2 separate regions of the Homo sapiens genome follow, and region 1 is linked to region 2. Evidence: promoter capture Hi-C in human tissues and cell types (Jung and others, 2019). All regions are on one chromosome and are shown on one strand. Each heading gives the region's core, a stretch centred on a gene start or on the middle of the fragment in contact. The rest is flanking DNA. Distances are from core to core; before and after follow the strand shown.

Region 1 (3,302 bases), core at 265-2,764, 320 kb after region 2:
CAATGTCTGGCTGCTCCTGGCCTGGCTCACGACGGGCTGCAGCCTTTGTGGCAGGCCTGTCCTGGTGGCACCATGTCTCCCTCTCCATCCTTTAGTTTTCTCGCCAAAGGCCGGGGAAGCCAGGGCCAGTGTGAGTGCTGCCTCTGGGTGGTCTCCACAGTGCGGGCGGTGACTCCACTGCCCCCAGCCCCTTGACATCTGCCTTCTGTAGAGCACAGGTTGTCACCAGTTGACACTTACACAAGCCAGAAGCAGGCCCGGCCCACACTCATTGCCATAATAAACACACGCGGTAGTTTCTGAGAGCTGAGCTGTCCCATCCATCAATCCAGCGTGACATGCAAAGGGCCCCCGTGGTGGGAGTCGTGACTTCAAAGGTCAGAGCCTGACATCCAGGTGTGTGCATCAGGGATGCTGTGTGTCCTGGGCTGCAGTGGACGGCGGAGGTGAGCCATGGGGTCTGCGTGGGTGTGAGAGTCTGCGTGCATGCATGTGTGTGTGCATATAGATATGTCTATACACATAGGTGTGTGCACATATGCATGTGTGTATGTATGTATGTGTATATTCGTTTGTGTGCATATGTATGTGTGTGCATATGTGTAGGTAGTGTTCACGTGTGTATGTGTATATGTGTGTACATGCATGTATGCATGTGTGCACATGTATATGTGTGTGTGCATGTGTGCAGGCGTATATATGTAGGTGTGTATGTGCATTTATGTGTCTATGCATGTATGCCTATGTGTGTATACATGTTGTTATATGTATACTCATGTGCATGTGTGCGCATGTGTATGTGTTTATATATTTATATGGTTGTGTGCATGTGTATATGTAATGTGTGCAAATGTGTGTGTGTGCAGGCAAGCACATTAGATCAGGAGATCTCAATTCAAACATGTTCAGCCGCCAGCAAGGTTGTATAAATGTGAAAATGGGATGGGATAGAGAGAAAGTGACTCTGGTCCTTCAAATATAGGGCACATATGGTATAGAGTGCCGAGGACTGTGGCAAACAGGAAGCCTGTATCCCTGAGTGCAGCAGATGCAACCTCGTTGCTGCTGCATGAGGAATGCGGATCCAGTGTTACCAGGAATCCTCATTTTTCAAGAGAAGCCAGAAAGCTGGATTTTTATGTGAAATGGCTTGATTTTTAAGAATCTATTGTCAGCCCATTGAAGGAGATTGTTAAATGTCTCCTGGGTCAAAGAAAACACATGTGAGGCTTGAATTTGGCCTGTGGACATCCAGTGAGCAGTCGATCGCCACTGTGGTCATTTCTTTCTGATGTAGAAGGGACTACCCTACCAAGCTGGGCTTTTCCCAGAAGATCCTGCACTGGCTTGGAGGAATGGATCCTAATGGGGTGGTTTTGCCCACAGGAGGCATTTGGCAATGCCTGGAGACAGTTTTGGTGATCAAAACTGGGTCGTTGTTGTTGGTGGTGGTGGTGGTGGTGGTGGTGGTGCGCTCAATACTGGCAGCTGGGGTAAAGCCAGGGATGCTGCTGAACATCCTACAGTGCCCGGGACAACCCCTAGCCTACCCCAAGTTAAAGAATAATCTGGCTTGGCCGGGCACGGTGGTTCACGCCCATTATACCAGCACTTTGGGAGGCTGAGGTGGGTGTATCATTTGAGGTCAGGAGTTCAAGACTAGTCTGGCCAACATGGCGAAACCACGCCTTTACTGAAAATATAAAAATTAGCCAGGCTTGGTGGCAGGCACCTGTAATCTCAGCTACACGGGAGGCTGAGACAGGAGAATTGCTTGAACCCGGGAGGCAGAGGTTGCAGTGAGCAAAGATCATGCCATTGAACTCTAGCCTGGGCAACAAGAGTGAGACTCTGTCTCAAAAAAAAAAAAAAAAAAAAAAAAAAAAAAGAATAATCTGGCTCTAAATGTTGACAGTGAAGTGAGGTAGCTGAGAAACCTTGAATTAGAATCATCCCGAGGGTGATTTGAGAAGGCCAGCTTCTGGTTGTGGAAATTCCTCACTTATGAGCAGTGGCCTTTAGGAGTCAGTTTACACCTGATTTAAAATGTCCTCCAAAGGTCATCTTTCCAGCCTAGTGGCCTGTCCAGTGCTTTCCTGACATGCCAGCCCCGTGATAGGTGTGTCACATGTCTGAAATCAGCAAACCTCTCAACTCCCAGGAGACAAACCACTTTTATCCCCATTTTACAGGTGAGAATACTGAGACAGAGAAAAACCGAGCAAGAGTCTGTGGTCACACACACACATACACACACACCACACAGGAAAGTTGGTAGAGCCTGGATGTACTTTGGACAGTCTGACTCCAAACCCACCCCCTTAATGACAGGTCTACACTGTGAGAAGACATGGACTGAAATTGTTTTGCATTCTCTTGCACATCTGAGAGTTTGCTTGACTGCTTTTTATGCCTGGAACATTCTTCTCTTGGAAAACACCTACTTAACTTTCAGGGCTCAGTTCTAAAAGCTCCTTCTCCCGAACGTTTCCCCCTGAGGAGGGACTAGGTCAGGCACCCAGTCTGGGGTTCCTTCACCAACAAGGTGTTTTCCCTAACAGAGATCATTTCTCATTTACTGTGATTGCTTCAGTTTCTGTCTTATTGTGGCATGAGCATCCATCACAGCCATGCTAATACCTGGCACATGCTAGGCACTGACTAACTGTTGAATGAGCGGATCAATGAATGGATGGGTGTTTCCTTGCTTCCCAATTAGCTTTATTTCTGAACTTTGCAGTTGAGTCTTTTTGATGAGCTAGGCGCTGTTCTAAGTACTTTACGTGTATTAACTTGCTGATCTTTGCAACAGTCTTATGAGGTAGGCATTATTACTATCCCTGTTTATTCTCATTTACTCAACTTCTTAGGCAAAGAGAAGTTAAGGAACTTGCCAAAGTCACACAGCTAGTAAGTGGCAAGGACTTCTTCAGTGGCTGCCGCAGTGACTTTCTGCAGGCCTGGGAACAGAGCTGAGCTTTGTTCTTGTCCTAACTCTCTGGATCTCCAGATAAGGGCTCAGTGAGCTTATATTATGTGACTCAGGACAGATTCACATACAAACAACTATTTTACCGAACATCTACAATGTGGTGGGCATTGAATTAATTGAAGTGGTTATATTTTCATGTACCTTTGTCATTTGTATCTCTTGTTTAAGTATTTGCTTGTTTACATCCTATTAGTATATTTGACTGTCTGTTATTGATTAGCAATTACTCTTTACATATTAAGGCTCTACACAATATGTTTGTCACCTTTTTCATATTTCCCCAATTTAGTTATTTTTCAACTTGCTTATA
Region 2 (3,249 bases), core at 60-2,559:
ATGTATACTCTTTTTTTCTTTTCTTTTCTTTTCTTTTCTTTTTTTTTTTTTTTTTTGAGACTGAGCCCTGCTCTGTTGCCCAGACTGGAGTGCAGTGGCGCCATCTAAGCTCACTGTAACCTCTACTTCCTGGGTTCAAGTGATTCTCCCGTCTCAGCCTCCCAAGTAGCTGGGATTACAGGCACATGCCACCATGCCTGGCTAATTTGTGTATTTTTAGTAGAGATAGGGTTTCACCATGTTGGCCAGGCTGGTCTCAAACTTCTGACCTTGGGTGATCTGCCTACCTTGGCCTCCCAAAGTGCTGGGATTACAAGTGTGAGCCACCAGGCCTGGCTCCAAAGTATACTCTTAACCCAAGGCAGGCACACACTGCTGCTGTCAATGATGGTATGTGGTAATAGGGAGTGGTGGGGACTGTGGAGGGAATATGGCCACAGGATGGATGATTTCACTTGGCTCTAGCAGAAGACTGGTTCTATGACAGTGTGGGCCCAGTGCTTCCAGAACTCTTCATATTTTCTTTTCTTTCTTTTTCTTTTTCTTTTTTTTTTTTTTTTTTTTTTGAGACAGAGTCTTGCTCTGTTGCCAGGCTGGAGTGCAGTGGCGTGATCTCGGCTCATCACAACCTCTGCCTCCTGGGTTCAAGTGATTCTCCTGTCTCAGCCTCCCAAGTAGCTGAGACTACAGGCGTGTGCCACCACATCCAGCTAATTTTTGTATTTTTAGTAAAGACGGGGTTTCACCACGTTGGACAGGATGGTCTCGATCTCTTGACCTCGTAATCTGCCCGCCTCAGCCTCCCAAAGTGCTGGGATTACAGGCGTGAGCTGCCGCGCCCGGCCACGCTCTCATATTTTCAAAGGAAGCCGGAAACCTGGACTTTTAAAGTGAAATACCCACCCCCCACAACATTTAAGTACTGACTAATAATTTTTAGAAACAACATAGGCCAAACAAAACACATAGGTGGCTCCGAGTTTGTAGGTAGCCTGTGGTTTAATATCTTTCTCTCCCATTTAACTCAGCTCCACGGGGCACATGGCATCTCCCTCTGCTCATCATAGTGTTTGGATCAAACAAATGAAAAACAGAAACATGACGGCCTCTACCAGCAAAAGCTCGAGGGTTGGAAAGAGTCCCCTGGCAGGGAATTGGCACCCCGTCGTGCCTATCCTCTCTCTCTGACTGCCTGCTGGAAATGCCCCCATCTCCCTTTGAGTCCTCCTCCCGGGCGACTCCTGTGACCTGTAACCTCTGTCCTGAAATCATCACAATGGCCAGGGTGGCCTCAGCTCAGGGCCTCTGTGACATCACCAAGGGCCTGGCACCAGGTGCCCAGTCTTCCAGTTGCGAGGGCAAGCAAACCCGTCATGAGCAACTCCCTTCCCCATCTCTGCTCACCATGTGGACGCTGAAATCGTCCCTGGTCCTGCTTCTGTGCCTCACCTGCAGCTATGCCTTTATGTTCTCTTCTCTGAGACAGAAAACTAGCGAACCCCAGGGGAAGGTGCCGTGTGGAGAGCACTTTCGGATTCGGCAGAACCTACCAGAGCACACCCAAGGCTGGCTTGGGAGCAAATGGCTCTGGCTTTTGTTTGCTGTTGTGCCGTTTGTGATACTGCAGTGTCAAAGAGACAGTGAGAAGAATAAGGTAAGGATGGCTCCATTTTTTTTACACCATATTGATTCAATCTCAGGAGTCTCAGGGAAACGGATGTTCTAGTGAGTCTAGGCGGCACCGTTGGGTATAATGAACCGACCTCATGGTCCTGGGCAAAGCTGGCAAATTCACTTCCTGATGTATCCTTAGTGAAGACAATAGTCCCCACATCCACAGATATTGGGACAAACAGTGGAAGATGACCTCTAGTTTCTTGGCTCAAAGTTCTTCTGGTTAGATGGATTTTTTCAAATGTAGGATAGATTCAAGAACTCAGCCGGGCGCAGTGGTTCATGCTGTAATCCCATCACTTTGGGAGGCCAGGGCAGGTGGATTGCCTGAGGTCGGGAGTTTGAGAACAGCCTGGCCAACACGGTGAAACCCCATCTCTACTAAAAATACAAAAATTAGCTGGGCATGGCGGCGTGTGTCTGTAATCCCAGCTACTCGGGAGGCTGAGGCAGAAGAATGGCTTGAACCCTGGAGGCAGAGGTTGTGGTGAGCTGAGATCACACTACTGCACTCCTGCATGGGCGACTGAGACTCTGTCTCAAAATAAAGAACTTATGGTGTGTTTTAGAAGGTCAAAATTATATTATTCACAGGGCCAAATTCACTGTTCCCTTGCTTTTTACATTTTTCCTAGTGCTTGACTTACTGAAAATTCCTGAGCTAAATGGAAATGATATCATCCCAACAAAATATGAAACTTCTGTAAGGAGATAAAGGTGTAGGCCGGGCACAGTGGCTCATGCCTGTAATCCCAGAACTTTGGGAGGCCGAGACGGGCAGATCACTTGAGGTCAGGAGATTGAGACCAGCCTGGCCAACATGGTGAAACCTCGTCTTTACTAAAAATACAGAAATTAGGCCAGGCGCGGTGGCTCACCCCTGTAATCCTAGCACTTTGGGAGGCTGAGGCGGGTGAATCACGAGGTCAGGAGTTCGAGACCAGCTGGGCAACATGGTGAAACCCTGTCTCTACTAAAAATACAAAACCTAGCTGGGCGTAGTGGCGGGCGCCTGTAATCCCAGCTACTCGGGAGGCTGAGGCAGGAGAATCACTTGAACCCTGGAGGCAGAGGTGGTAGTGAGCCGAGATGGAGCCACTGCACTCCAGCCCAGGTGACAGAGTGAGACTCTGTCTCAAAAAAAAAAAAAAAAAAAAAAAAAGCTGGGCCCAGTGGCTCATGCCTGTAATCCCAGCACTTTGGGAGGCCGAGGCGGACGGATCATCTGAGGTCAGGAAGTTGAGACCAGCCTGACCAACATGGAGAAAGCCCGTCTCTACTAAAAATACAAAATTAGGCGTAGTGGCGCATGCCTGTAATCCCAGCTACTCGGGAGGCTGAGGCAGGAGAATCGCTTGAACCCGGGAGGTGGAGGTTGCAGTGAGCCGAAACTGCGCCATTGCCCTCCAGCCTGGGCAACAAGAGCAAAACTCTGTCTCAAAAAAAAAAAAAAATACAGAAATTAGCCAGGTGTGGTGGCACACCCCTGTAATCCCAGCTACTCGGGAGACTGAGGCAGGAGAATCACTTGAACCTGGGAGGCAGAGGTTGCAGTGAGCTGAGATCGTGCCACTG

Evidence for each region. Contacts are between HindIII fragments. The study calls those that stand out against the background at their distance.
Region 1: a contact is called between a fragment that was not itself captured here and the fragment with the promoter of FAM209B in region 2, in 4 of the 25 tissues and cell types used here (aorta, mesenchymal stem cells, mesendoderm cells and 1 more).

Annotation. Positions count from the first base shown.
Region 1 is chr20:56,848,578-56,851,879 of GRCh38, forward strand. No RefSeq gene overlaps it. Among named protein-coding and RNA genes, the nearest start is that of TFAP2C, 220 kb to the left of the region's middle. RefSeq lists a silencer at 1-137. The HindIII fragment of the contact is 7,669 bases long and covers 1-3,302 here.
Region 2 is chr20:56,531,937-56,535,185 of GRCh38, forward strand. FAM209B (family with sequence similarity 209 member B) reads left to right here and starts at 1,310. Exons shown (of 2, transcript NM_001013646.4): 1 at 1,310-1,654. The coding sequence starts at 1,406. It also overlaps a transcript of FAM209A not described here. The HindIII fragment of the contact is 6,468 bases long and covers 1-1,873 here.